Linked DNA regions of Homo sapiens: regions 1 and 3 are each linked to region 2. The links are contacts of gene promoters, found by promoter capture Hi-C in blood cells and fetal thymus (Javierre and others, 2016). All regions are on one chromosome and are shown on one strand. Each heading gives the region's core, a stretch centred on a gene start or on the middle of the fragment in contact. The rest is flanking DNA. Distances are from core to core; before and after follow the strand shown.

Region 1 (4,306 bases), core at 299-2,798, 220 kb before region 2:
TCTGCCTAGGTCCTAAGGTGTTTGCTAGTTCTAATTTTTATGTCAGCTTTTTTTCCTTAGGATTTTTCCAAATATTTCAGATAGCGTAAACTTGAGCTCCACATAGGTAAAGGACGAGTATCTCATTATCGCTCTCTTTTTTTTGTAATTTTTAATTTTATTTATTTATTTTTAACTTTTATTTTAACTTCAGTGGTAGATGTACAGGTTTGTTATGTAGGTAACTCATGTCATGGAGGTTTGTTGTACATATTATTTTTTCACCCAGGTATTAAGCCTACTACTCATTAGTTATTTTTCCTGTAAGATCTCAGTCTATTACTGGTGACTTTGTTCATGCCTGTGACCTCAGGTTTTGTTGGTAAGCGGGCAGGGATTTTCAGAGATTTTAGGACCCCGTATATATACAAAGCAGCACTAAGTTTGGCTTCTCATTTGTACTTAAGAGCCCAGCTACAATCCTCTCTATATGTGGGAACTGAAGTTTTGGCTAGTTTTTGCATGTAGCATTAAATGTTTAAGCTACTAATGCATATACCCCTACTCTCCCAGAGGCAGTGTGGCCTCTTGCTCATTGCTGTTGCTCTGGGCTTATTTTTCATTTCTGGCCTCTGAATATTTCTCTTTCTTGCTTTATCTTTTTTTTTAATAGTTTTAATTTATGTTAAATATATTAGCCAGCAATGCTATGTGTCCAGCATAAGAACAAGGACTTCTGTTCTATTAAGTCTGGCATTTAACTCAGAGGTCTGGAATTCCTATTTGCTCAGTTTCTGATTCTTTTTAAGTGTCTTCTTTTTTATGCTTCTCCTGCCAAAAGCTATTTTTTTGTTCTATGTTTTCCTATTCAAATTCCAAAGGAAGATGATCTAATTGGCCTTTTCAACAGCCATTGCCCCTGTGAGCAGATATTTCATACTAGACTACTTTGTATGGTAGCAGCCAGTGAATGAATTTGCTGCTCTCGGACCAGTCCAAATTAGTGAACTCACTCAAAGAACAAACGACGTCAGCTTTTCTTAGTAGAGGTGGTAGGTTGGGATTTGAAAAGGTGTTAGGGGTGGTAGGCACTGTCATTAACATATCTAATATATCTTGTAATATAAGGTTTCAACTAATGGAATGAGTAATAGCTTAGATATCACTTAAGAAATAAGAGTATGTGTCACATAATAGATATGTAAAATTATTTGTTAAAAGAGTACATACATCGATGAATGAATTACCTGTGTTTTCATATGGGCTCTTCATTAATTTGATTTGAGCAAAGTTCTCTGTCCCTCAATTTCCCAAATATAAAATAGTGGGAATAATATCAGTTCTGCCTACCTCACAAGTTGTTATGAGAACAGAATCACAAGGAGGTAGACTATGTGGAAATATTTTGAAACTATAAAGTGTTATATAAATGTGATTTATTGCTATTGCTATTGCCATAACATAACATTTTAATTCAAAAGAGTTAAACAGACATTTTAACTCACAAGGCCATCTTGATAGTCTTATAATCTGTAATGACAAAATAATACAGCTTATTAATCATCAAACAGTTCTTGATCACATTTCATCATCACAGTATGTCAATGATATAAAATATAAACAACCACTTAAGAATCATGTTTATTTGAAATGTTATGAGGGAGTCTTATTTGTGTGGAAAATTTATTATTTTATTTTATTTGTGACGGAGTTTCCCTCTGTCGCCCGGGCTGGAGTGAAGTGGTGCGATCTTGGCTCACTACAACCTCCACCCTCCTGATTCAAGCGATTCTCCTGCCTCAGCTTCCCAAGTAGCTGGGATTACAGGCGTGCGCCACCGTGCCCGGTGAATTTTTGTATTTTTAGTAGAGATGGGGTTTTGCCATATTGGTCAGGCTGGTCTCGAACTCCTGACCTCATGTGATCCACCTGTCTTGGCCTCCCAAATTGCTAGGATTATAGGCGTGAGCCACCGCACCCAGCCTGTGTGGAAAATTTAGATGTTGAAGCCGGATTTATCTGGTTTTCAAATCCTGGTTCTGCCACTTGTTATCTGTTTTATCTTGAACAAGTTAGTTTTTCCGAATTTTGGTTTTCTCATCTATGAAATGGGGATAATTATCCTGCCTCTTGTTGTCTAAATGGTATAATGTATGTGAGTGAGAGTAGGTGGATCCTACTACTTTTCATTACCCTTTCTTTCTCCAGCCAGTCCCCTGCGGCCTCCCACACACAACACTTCATAGCAATTTCAAGGTCAGATAGATTGAAAAGGACTACCTAGTAGGAAGAAATATTTATTTTTAAAGGAAATCAATGTCCATAAACACAACTATTTATAAAGTACATAGTTGTGGCTTTTTTCATAGTTTTTATCAATTAAGCCATGTGAAATGTGCTCCAAGAGATGAGTCACTGTCTGCAGTTATTTAAACTTGATGGCCCGTCGCTACAGCCTGTCTCACGCAATTAATGTAATTCCCTGAATAGATCAATGTAATTTTTTGAATCAAATATCTAACCTAGAGTTTTCCAGATTAAGGTTTGCATAATAAAACAATATAGTCTGCTATGGACATGCTATTGAGTATGATTTTGTTATAATTCCAGAGGAAACGGTTGTGTTATCTTCATGACTTCTCTTTTAATTCTTCAAAAGACTGTATGTTTCACAAACATAGCTAATGGGATATGTTTTCAATTTGTTTTTCAAAATTTGAAAATAATTATGGGCCAGGAGCAGTGTCTCACGCCTGTAATCCAGAACTTTGAGAGGCCCAGGCAGGTGGATCACTTGAGGTCAGGAGTTTTGAGACCAGCCTGGCCAACATGGCAAAACCCCGTCTCTACTAAAAATACAAAAATTAGCTGGGCATGGTGGCTCATGCCTGTAATTCCAGCTACTCAGGAGGCTGAGGCACGAGAATCGCTTGAACCTGGGAGGCAGAGTTTGCAGTAAGCCAAGATTGTGCCACTGCACTCCAGCCTGGGCCACAGAGTGAGACTGTGTCTCAAAGAAAAAAAAAAAGGAAGTAATTATGCACTGTACTTGCAAAAGTTTTCTCTGTGCCTTTTGTGTGTAACATTTTACTATTCTGTTTTGGATTGTTGCTGAATTAATGATAATTGATTAATTAATTGATTTATAGCTCTGAATAAAAAAATTCAAATTCCTGAATAAAATATATTGAAAGCTCTTCCTAACGGTAATTGATTTGATAAAATATAATTGGAAGCAGACTTTCTTTGAAATATTTTGACTTTAAACTTTTCTTTGTTTCTCTCAAGGGCAGGTTTTGTCTTCAGGCTGTGTGACTTGTGTTGAATATAGGCACTGTCATAATTGAATGAACCTTTAATTGTAGACTTTGGGTGGCTTTCAAAAGGAAGAAAAATTTCTCCCTAATTATCTTGGACTAATTATCTCTGCATTAATGGTTTGACTGCTGTTATTCATTATATGGGAAGCATAAATAGAAGGTTAGAGCTAAGGAGAACAGTTGTAGGCAAGGTCTTTTCTCACTCTCTGAGACTTACTTTTCTGTGATGGATCCAAGAGGAGCTTGGGTTTTGATTATTGGACACTGAAATTCTGATTCCATGATCATATAAAGTGATTTTATTAGTTGTTATATATTTATATGATTCTATACTTTTCTTTTTCTGACCTTGCCTTCTCCCCTCCTAAGCACTACAACACTTTGACCCAGCCCTCTAGGACTTATGATCAGTCAAATAAAACTTTTGACATCCCCTATCTCTCCTCTGTAACTTTCCTTCTTTTCTTATTCTAATATAAACTGGTTTGCCCTTGAAGATACTGTTTCTCCTCTAGCTCTCTCAGGTAGCTACTGTTTTCTTCCCACACCCCTTCACAATTGATGTGGCAGTAAAATAAACATCGTGCTTTCCCATTCTCTTGCTAGACCATTGTCATTCCCTCCTCTACAAATTTTTCCAACTTTAAATTTGATATAAATCATCCATATTGCCACCTGAATGCAATCAGGAATTGCATCTCTGAATGCAAAAAAATCAGTCATCTGCTATCCCTGATCCCTTCTCCTTATTTCATGATTTGAAAACCTTGTTTACTGACATTATCTCATTAATGTTGCCTTAGTTGTTGGTGATTGAAATATTCACATAGGTTATACTTCTGATACTTTGGCATCTCAATTTCTTGATCTCCTCCCTTATAATGGTCCTGTTTTCAGTCTACCTCACTCCCTCACTGCCACTATCTTACACTTAATGTTACGATGCTAGAATTTCAACTTCTTCATGAGCTCAGTTTCCAGCATCACATTCACTCCATCAACTCACC
Region 2 (4,459 bases), core at 1,021-3,520:
CACAGAAGTAAATGGATAAATGGCAAGGTGGAAATGAATATAAATTTTGATTTTAGCACCAAATATAATTGCTGTGTTTGCATTACTATTGTGACTATAGACTCCATCTCCATTCAGCTGCCATACTCCTAATCAGGCAGCTGCTGCAGAATCATGCATTTTTTTTGACAATAATTACTTAATCCATGTATGTAGTTGGTCATTATTGCAGTTTCTGAGGCAAAACCAAATATGCTGCCCTTATTTCCATTCTGTCTCTTCTCTAGTCATCTGGCCTCTTCCTTTCCCAGAAATTCTTAAGATCATTGACTCCACCGACGGAAGTCAGGCTTCTGACTGCCTAATAAATAAGTTCACCAGTGAAAAGCCTATTTTTCATTCTGTTTAATTACAGGCTTCAGAGACACTCAAAATGGAGCGTATCTGGGGGATAAATAATACTGTAGGTTTGGTTTACTTTTCTCCTATTGGCATTGGCACCAAGCCTTCCTCTGCTTTGAAATTCATGGCTGCGACCGTGGCTGCATACTAAACAGAGCGTAGTCACCACACAGACGGCTTCACCCATCCAGATGCAGCTCAACTAGTCCATATACCGCGATGGCCAACTCTGTGCAGTAGTTTAGATACCTAATACTGCTGGTTTGTTTCTAGAGCAATCTATGTGTGTGATTGTAAATGGGTTCATACATTACAATTTGAATTGGATGTGGTGAACTACACTGGAGCTTGAATTACGATATTCTCATTCTGCATTGTGGATCATTGCCTTCAAAATTGGCTCTTAGAAGTGAATATATGTAAAAAATAATTAGATGACATATAGACATTGTAAAAAATATCAAAAATACAAGGAAGTAACAGTGAAAAGTAAATTTCCTTCCCACTCTGGTCTTCTTAGTTTGCAATTTCCCTTTCACAGAGCAACCACTGTTAGCAGTTTCATGCAGAGACATCCTATGCATATATAAGTATATATGCATAAGTTTTGTGTACGGAGAGAATACTATAGCTCTACCTTCCTATTTTTGCATACAAATGTGACATGATGTACACAAAGTTCTGTGATTTTTGTTCCTTTTATTCAATAACTATTACAGACCTCTCTATATCAGCATCTGTGATCTGTCTCCACCTTTTAAAACAGATTCCTAGTATTCTGTTGAATTTATATAACCATTTTGTACTTAGTCTGTCACATTTTCATGAATATTTGCTGTTTCCAATATTTTGTTAACACCAACAATGCTTCGATGAACATCATTGCATATAGTAATTTGTGCCATGTGTAAGGGGTACATTCATGTATCTTGCAAGGAGAATTCTTGCTCTAAGGGCATATTTATTTTTTATGTTGATGTATATTGCCTACTTGTTTTCCAAATAAGCTGTACAGTTTTCCCAACCGTATATGAGAGTATTTGTTTCCCAGTATTTATCCCTCTTCCCTATATTATCAATTTTTTGAACTTGCCAATCTGATTATAATTCTAAGGTATGTTTATCTAATTATGACTGAGGTTAAGCATCTTAACAATCATTTGTTACATTCTTTCCACATAACCATTTAGCTCTTCATTATACCCTGAAAGATATCCATCTTCTCTCCACTAGTTTCAAATGGAAGCTTAAATAAATTTGTTTATTTGAGTCTAAACTCTCCATTTCTAAACTCTCTACTCTTTTACATTTACCTTATTATTTACACATATCAGTACTAATTTTTGTAAAATGCATAGATTAAGACATCTTAATGTACAATAGGTTAGTGCCTTTTCTTTTTCTCAGAATTTCCCTAGATATTCTTGCTTTATTTTTCAGTGGTAGTGATGGAGTTGTTTCATAAAATAAACATTGAAATATACCTTGTTTAAAAGAGGGGTATTATCACAATAAAACAAGGAAAGCTTTATGCCTAAGTTTGGGTTAGACCTGGAACTGAAAATGGTGTGTAGGAGAACAAAGAGTACCAACAAAGGGAAGAAAATTGAATAAATGTTCCAAATATGAAATACTATTAGAAACCCAGAAGTTCCCTGGAATAAAACATGCACTTGAATGTGGAAAGTTATTAAGTAGCCAGCTAGCTCTGTAGGTCAGCATTTATAACCCCTACTTTTAAAGGCCTTGACAAACAGTGCTAAAGTTCTCACCTTAAACTTAAATTCCTTGGGCTCTTAGTACCTGTAAACATGTACCCAACATTCCTTCCCCTAGCATGCACTTTACGAGTCACAAGGAGCCATTATTAATGCATGTCCTGGTAGGAAGCATAACTTATAGAGAAGCTAGTAAGTTCTGAGAAAGAAGGAAATAAACACAGGCACCAAACCACTATCCTAAGTTGACTGTCCTTTAAATATGTCAAGATCCAGACTTTTCAGTGTCACCTCAGCGATCTCAACGATAGGGATCTTGTGTTTGCCGCTATTCCAGGTAACTATCTCTCTTTCTGGGTTAAGGTTTTCAGAGGTACTCTGAGGTACTCTGAGGACTTGATTTGCTATAGATTTATATGTGAGCAACTTAACTGCTTCTACATTTAAAAGATTTCCTTCAAGCTTTACTAGCATCTTATGATTTCTTGTATTCACTGGTCAGAGGGACAAAACAAAATGTCCAAGGCATTAGTCTTATTTCTCCTTCAATTAGTTCTATTGCTACTGAAATAACGTGATTGCAAATTTAACCTTTGTTTAACTTTGCTATGCTGTAATTTTTTAAATTCAAAATGCTATTGACACAGAACAAAATGCTATGGCTAGATTAATTTAAGACATGTTTACTATTGCCTACAACCATACTTGATGCTTGACAGTTTTTCAATGCTGACTGATGTAGACAGAACCATTTTAGGATTTATTTCAGTTCCTCTGCTCCAGCATCCCCTTCTGACTAACACGTGCATCTCTAGATCTGTGTGACTTCAATGCAAGGTATCTGAAAGATTTAGATCTAAAGTAAATTATAGCTTTCCTTACCTCTTCATAATAACTGGAAGTTTGACAGCTAATGTGTTGGCAGTGAGGTGCTAATAATTTAATACTGTGTACTATTGCTAGGGTACAACACACAGAAAAAACACGGAAGTGACTTGAAAGTGAAATACTGGTTTTATTTGTTTATCTGTTAAGCTGGATCCCAAACGATTTCATCTACTCATAAATAAACTTTCTTTATGGACAAAATGTGAATGTTCATTTTCCTTTCACTTAGTATGCAAATCTATTTGCAGCATTCTAGCAAAAAAGAATGCAACTCATTTTCTGTGCTTATAAATTGTTCATTACCATGCTCTCTGATGGCCAATTCATGGCTCCATCTGCAACTCCACAAATCTCTTTGCCCAGATAAACTTGGTGGAGTAAATACAAGGTGCTGAAGAAGATGCTTTTGGGATTAAGGGGGGAAAAGACACATCTCACACAGAACTCCCAAGTCTATCACTTTAAATTTTGTAACTTCTTACTTGTACTTTTATTTGCGTGTTATAGTCCAGGAAAATAAATACTTCAACTGACTTCATCAACTAAGTGTTCAGAGCTACACATAAATGCCGTTTAAAGACTTTCTCCTTGTACAAGGAAGGAGTCCTGGTTCAAAGGGTCAAGCAAGCAAATAGATAATAAGATCTTTAGAAAGAAGTGCCTTTTTCCTTGTGATTTAGTATATGAGATGTTGTAACCTATGACACTCAGTGCAGATAACTAAGAGCATTATTTTAGAATGCTTATAGTATTGGACTTTTCAAACAAAGCAACAAAGATGATTACTTTTTTTCTCTTCTCTGATAAAGAGAAGACTGTAAATCTCAACTGGAATGTCATGTGATCTTAAATGGACCTTACCCTTAGAGCAGGTTAAAGTCGCCCTTTCATGAATATATATTTAATGCCCATTAATGCTAATAGGCTTGACTTCTGTTTCCATGTATGTACTTGGAACTTGTTTTTTTTTGCGTGAAAATAATACTCACTAATAATGAACCTCTGACCTCTAGCTACAACATGAAAACAAAAAATGCAAAGTGCACAAAAGCTCTTTAGAGCAAGCAAAATCTGCATATAGAAAAAACAAAAATTGTCGTAAAATCCATTTATATTGGTATGTAGAAATGGAATCTGGTTCACAATATATATCTTCTGCCACTGCTGAGCTTAAGAATCCACCCAGAGATTTTTTCAATTAAAATTCTGTGTACCAACAATAAACTCTGCTATAGAGCTTTTAATTAAAAAAGCAAACGAAATGATATAAACCCACATTGTCTCTAGGCGCTGCTTGTATTAAAGGATTAGACTGATGAGATGTTTGGATTTTATTGTTCTAAACATGTGTTTCAGTTGGTGCTCTCGGACCTACCATGCGAAGAAGATGAAATGTAAGTAAACAGCGAAAAACTCCATGTTTTTATTTCGCATTTAAAAAATTCAAAGTATAAAAAAGGCTCAAGCCATTA
Region 3 (4,387 bases), core at 760-3,259, 200 kb before region 2:
ACAATGAGCTTGGTGGCAATGGAGTTCTGGCACATGACACCCAGTTTAAACTCCAGCATGCTGATGCTCTTTTCTGTCACATAGTCAGGGCTCAGAACAACAATCATCCTTCTGCTTCTCTGAATGAAATCAAAAACTGCTTCCACTGTATCTATAGGAAAATGGAAATATAGGACAATGTATAGTGAAAACTTACATATATTCCAGTTCGTTATTGTCCATCCTCCAGAGGACAGGGAATGAACAAACACTTGAGATGACAGAATCTCAGTGCTGAATAATTTACCCAGTCAAAAAAATCTACACCACTCTTGTCAATGGTTGCTAAGAATTTACTGCCTTCAAGGATGGTATGGTAGTTGAGCTCAGTCTCTCTCTCCTACTGCAAAACCCTCATTGCAGTAGTCTCCTTCTTCAATAAGTCTTTCTTAAAACACACACACACACACACACACACACACACACACACACACACACACACGGTGGGCAATTGAGTAACTACCCTCAAAATATTAGCCACCATCAAAAGCAAGTCATTTCAGCTCTGTTTACAAATTATTTCTTGTTTTGAAATCTTCTTCCTCGCAAATGTTATCTGGTGGTCAGATCTTGAGTCTTTAAATGTTTAGAATATTTGAAAACCATTTTTATATCTTTGTAGTATTTTCTTCTTATGTCTGGATTAAATATTTTCAGGATATTTCTCTTATTCCATAAATGACATGGCCTCATGTCTCCTCTGCATGTTTACCATTTTCCTCTGGATAATGTTCAGTTTATAGATGTGTCTTCTAAGAGTAGTATTATGAACAGGAGTGAACATAATGCTCCTGACATAGTCTGATCAGCAAAGAGCAACAGGAATTATCACCTCCTAAGATTCTCAGTTATATCCTTTGATACTTAACATTTTTGGACACAACATCGGACAGTTCATAGTAGTTCATAGTATTTATCTTGTTATCAATTAAATTCTTTTTTCTGTGTGTGTGGTGCGTGTGTGTGTGCGTCTGTGTGTGAAGAATTGGAATTAAAGGGGCAAAAACAATGAAAATGGGTAAGAATTAGTCAAGTAGCTAAGACTTCTGGCAAACCATTCGATTCTAATGGTATCAAAGTGGATTTGGACAGATCCCAAGGGAAAGTTCTTCAAATAAATGTAATGCTTAACTCACTGTGAGATTTAGGAGCTTAGAACATGCCATATCCTGAAGGAAAAAGGTTCAAAATTGTAAATCCTAGCCATTTATAACTTTGAAAACATGTGCCAGAGTCACCGTGTGAGGGTGAACACCTCTGCTTTTGGTCCAGGGACGAAACAGTAACGGAGAGAGTTTTCAGCCTTGGAAGACAGACTGAAAGTTTGCATTGGTCATTGTGAACTTGACAGGGAATAAGGGAGCTGTGCTTCTTACAGATTATAGTTTTGTTTTTTTCAATCAGTGGATTTAACATGAATTTGAAGGGAAATTGGAGAGACACGTGCTCAAGTTTTGAGAACTTTTGATTGGTTTAAGCAGGAGTGCAAAAATGTTTTTAGAGACATTTTGTTTCATTCATTCTTAAGAGATAAATTTAAATTCTCGTTTATCATTAAAACCCTTCTGTGTGTACGAGTGTGTGCACATGTGCATGTGTTTTAGCAACTCCTCAGTCCCCTCTAGTCCTACTCAGAATCTTAAGAGGCTGCCTCTCATAAATCAGAGAATATGAAAGTGGGAAGTCTACTGCTTCTCCTGGCTCCTGAGAAATGTGAAATAACCTTAAGGCAACATGGCTAGCTTGTCAACAAAGAGAACTCATGCAAATTGTGTGTGTGTGTGTGTGTGTGTGTGTGTGTGTGTGTGTGATATGATGTTTCACTTCAAAACAGTCACCTTAGGAAAATGTATGTTTTTGCCAATAGGAATATTGTTGTTTAAAATACAACAAACACTGTTCCAGATCTTCTTAAAAAATGACTTTTGAGTCTGTTGCTCTTTAATTTTTTTATTGGTACTCCATCCAGAAAGTGAGGAAGTTTAGATTTGAAAGAGGACAATGCTAAATGCAGGTAAGAGTGGCGGAATTTTAGACGTTGAGAAACACATGTAGGAGATGCTTCTCAGAAAGGTCCTGGGCTATACCGAAGGATCTTCACTTAATACTGTAAAGGGAGTTGCATGCTTTATTGCATATTTTTAAAATACCTTCTATATTGCCAAAACTTCATATTTGAGGACAGGAGCTATTATTTTTAATGCTAAAGTTTACTTGGAGGAGTAGTAATTTAGCTCATTTATTCTGTTTGGCTCAAAAAATGAGGTATGGCCATATAATAATGAGATTTGTTTTCTTGTGTGGTACTAAATTGGCTTTGAAGTCATGTTGTATGACTGAGAACTCTTCAATACTCAAGAATACTCTTGCCTGTAAAAGTCATAACTTCCATGGAGTTCACTTAGAAGAAAACTAGGATGGTCATTTTTTTTTTTCTCCTCTGGATGAGTTATTAGTAGATAAAAGAACAGCAAACCTCTGTCTCTTTCATTTTCTCTATTAAAACTTGAAGTATAGAAAAAAGGAAATATTTAACTTGGAAGACGAATGTGGTTTCAAATATTGCTTTCTCCATTTATCCCTATTTGTATCTTAATATCTTTTGAGTCCTAGTTCATCCATCTATAAAATGCATATGATAAAGTAAACTCGTAGGGCTGATAAACAAATTAGATGCCTACATGTGAATTTCTAGCACACAGTACACATTGCATAAATCACTTTGATTAAATTACTGTTGCTCAACGTCTAGTGAACACAATAGTAAAATCATATATGGACTAATGTTTATTGAATCTGTATCAATTATTAATGCTAACTTTAAAATATCATCTTACTATGTGGATTTATAAGAGTAATAGTGTGTAAAAGTTCTGTCTATTCAGTTTTAAATAGATGTAGATTAAAATTACTACTAAAACACTCCATCTCCTAACTCATTACTAAGGTTACTTTATATTCCTTGAGTAGAAACAGAGAAATAAGATAGACTAGTTGCTAAACCCGTCTCTCATACCATACTGTGTATTTACTTGCGTTAAAGAGCTAGTGACATCAGTATATACTGGAAAAAAAAATCTTGAGAGTTTAAGGAAGGTTAATCACAGCCAGGTAGATCATATGCAAAATGCTGAAGTTGAATCTTCCAAAGAGTCACCAGTATGTTCTAGTAGGTCACTTAACACGTTCAGGGTTGGAAACAACTTCAGACTCAAAACCACTTATCCAGTGCAAAAAACTCATATACAAAATCTCAATGAAAATCTATCAAATAAATGCTTATATACCTCTGGTAATGGCAGGCCTAGTATTTCCAAAGATAGTGAATTCCATTAGTGTCGAACTCTGCTTTACAGCTATTTTCTAACTGAGCAGAAATCTGTTGCCTTGTAACTTCGATCCGTTGATCCTAAGCCTACACTTTTGGGGCTGGTTTGCAAAAGGAAAATTAATTCTTCAGTAGAAGAACCTTTACTAAGCTAACCAATTCTGAGCATGTTACAGGGCTCAGTAAAATGAACAAATAGGATTTTTTTTTTTTTTCTGAAGTCTCGCTCTGTCGCCAGGCTGGAGTCCAGTGGTGCAATCTCAGCTCACTGCAATCTCCGCCTCCCGGGTTCAAGCGATTCCCCTGCCTTAGCCTCCCGAGTAGCTGGGACTACAGGCGTGCACCACTATGCCCAGCTAATTTTTTGTATTTTAATAGAGACAGGGTTTCACCATGTTGGCCAGGATGGTCTCGATCTCCTGACCTCTTGATCCATCCGCTTCAGCCTCCCAAAGTGCTGGGATTACAGCGTGAGCCACCGCGCCTGGCCAGGGATTTTTTTTTTTAAAGCAAAAAGGCATCCCTGTCACTATGGACTTGTATTATTAACCGAAAATAAAATATGTTTCCAAATATTAATCACTGATTTATTCAAAATTTGTAACAGAAATGCATCTTTGATTCAAATGATCATCAATTAACTAAAGTCATGGCATTAGTTTTATCTATTTCCAAAGCAACTACCGTGTGGTTGCGTTAAAGCCTATTAGATGAAAAATATTCCTGTAAACGACCTAAGTTCCAAGTTGAGTAAAAAGGAATAAGCTTGTTTTCCTTTGTATTAAAATAATCTTTCTCTCCTTTTTCTCTGTCTCTCTGTATCTTTCCATCTTTTTGACAGTCTTTCTGTCTCTCTGCATACACACATACACATACACATACACATACACATACACACATAAACACATATACACCCATAAAATATGTCCTAGTATTCTGGAACAATTCATTTTACTTAAGTAACTTTTACTTCCATGTAAAGAAAATGTTCTTGATAAGAAGTTCCCATTTTACTCAGAT

The links. Contacts are between HindIII fragments. The CHiCAGO score rates a contact against its expected background, and 5 or more counts as called.
Region 1: a fragment that was not itself captured here is called in contact with the fragment with the promoter of TMEM207 in region 2 in 1 of 17 cell types (neutrophils); the score reaches 5.5 in neutrophils.
Region 3: a contact is called between a fragment that was not itself captured here and the fragment with the promoter of TMEM207 in region 2, in 1 of 17 cell types (neutrophils). The highest score is 5.7, in neutrophils.

What each region holds. Positions count from the first base shown.
Region 1 is chr3:190,669,875-190,674,180 of GRCh38, reverse strand. No RefSeq gene overlaps it. Among named protein-coding and RNA genes, the nearest start is that of LINC02013, 27 kb to the left of the region's middle. The HindIII fragment of the contact is 8,522 bases long and covers 1-4,306 here.
Region 2 is chr3:190,447,712-190,452,170 of GRCh38, reverse strand. TMEM207 (transmembrane protein 207) reads left to right here and starts at 2,270. Exons shown (of 5, transcript NM_207316.3): 1 at 2,270-2,436; 2 at 4,344-4,381. The coding sequence starts at 2,362. The HindIII fragment of the contact is 654 bases long and covers 1,910-2,563 here.
Region 3 is chr3:190,651,653-190,656,039 of GRCh38, reverse strand. It overlaps a transcript of IL1RAP not described here. Among named protein-coding and RNA genes, the nearest start is that of LINC02013, 45 kb to the left of the region's middle. The HindIII fragment of the contact is 4,251 bases long and covers 1-4,134 here.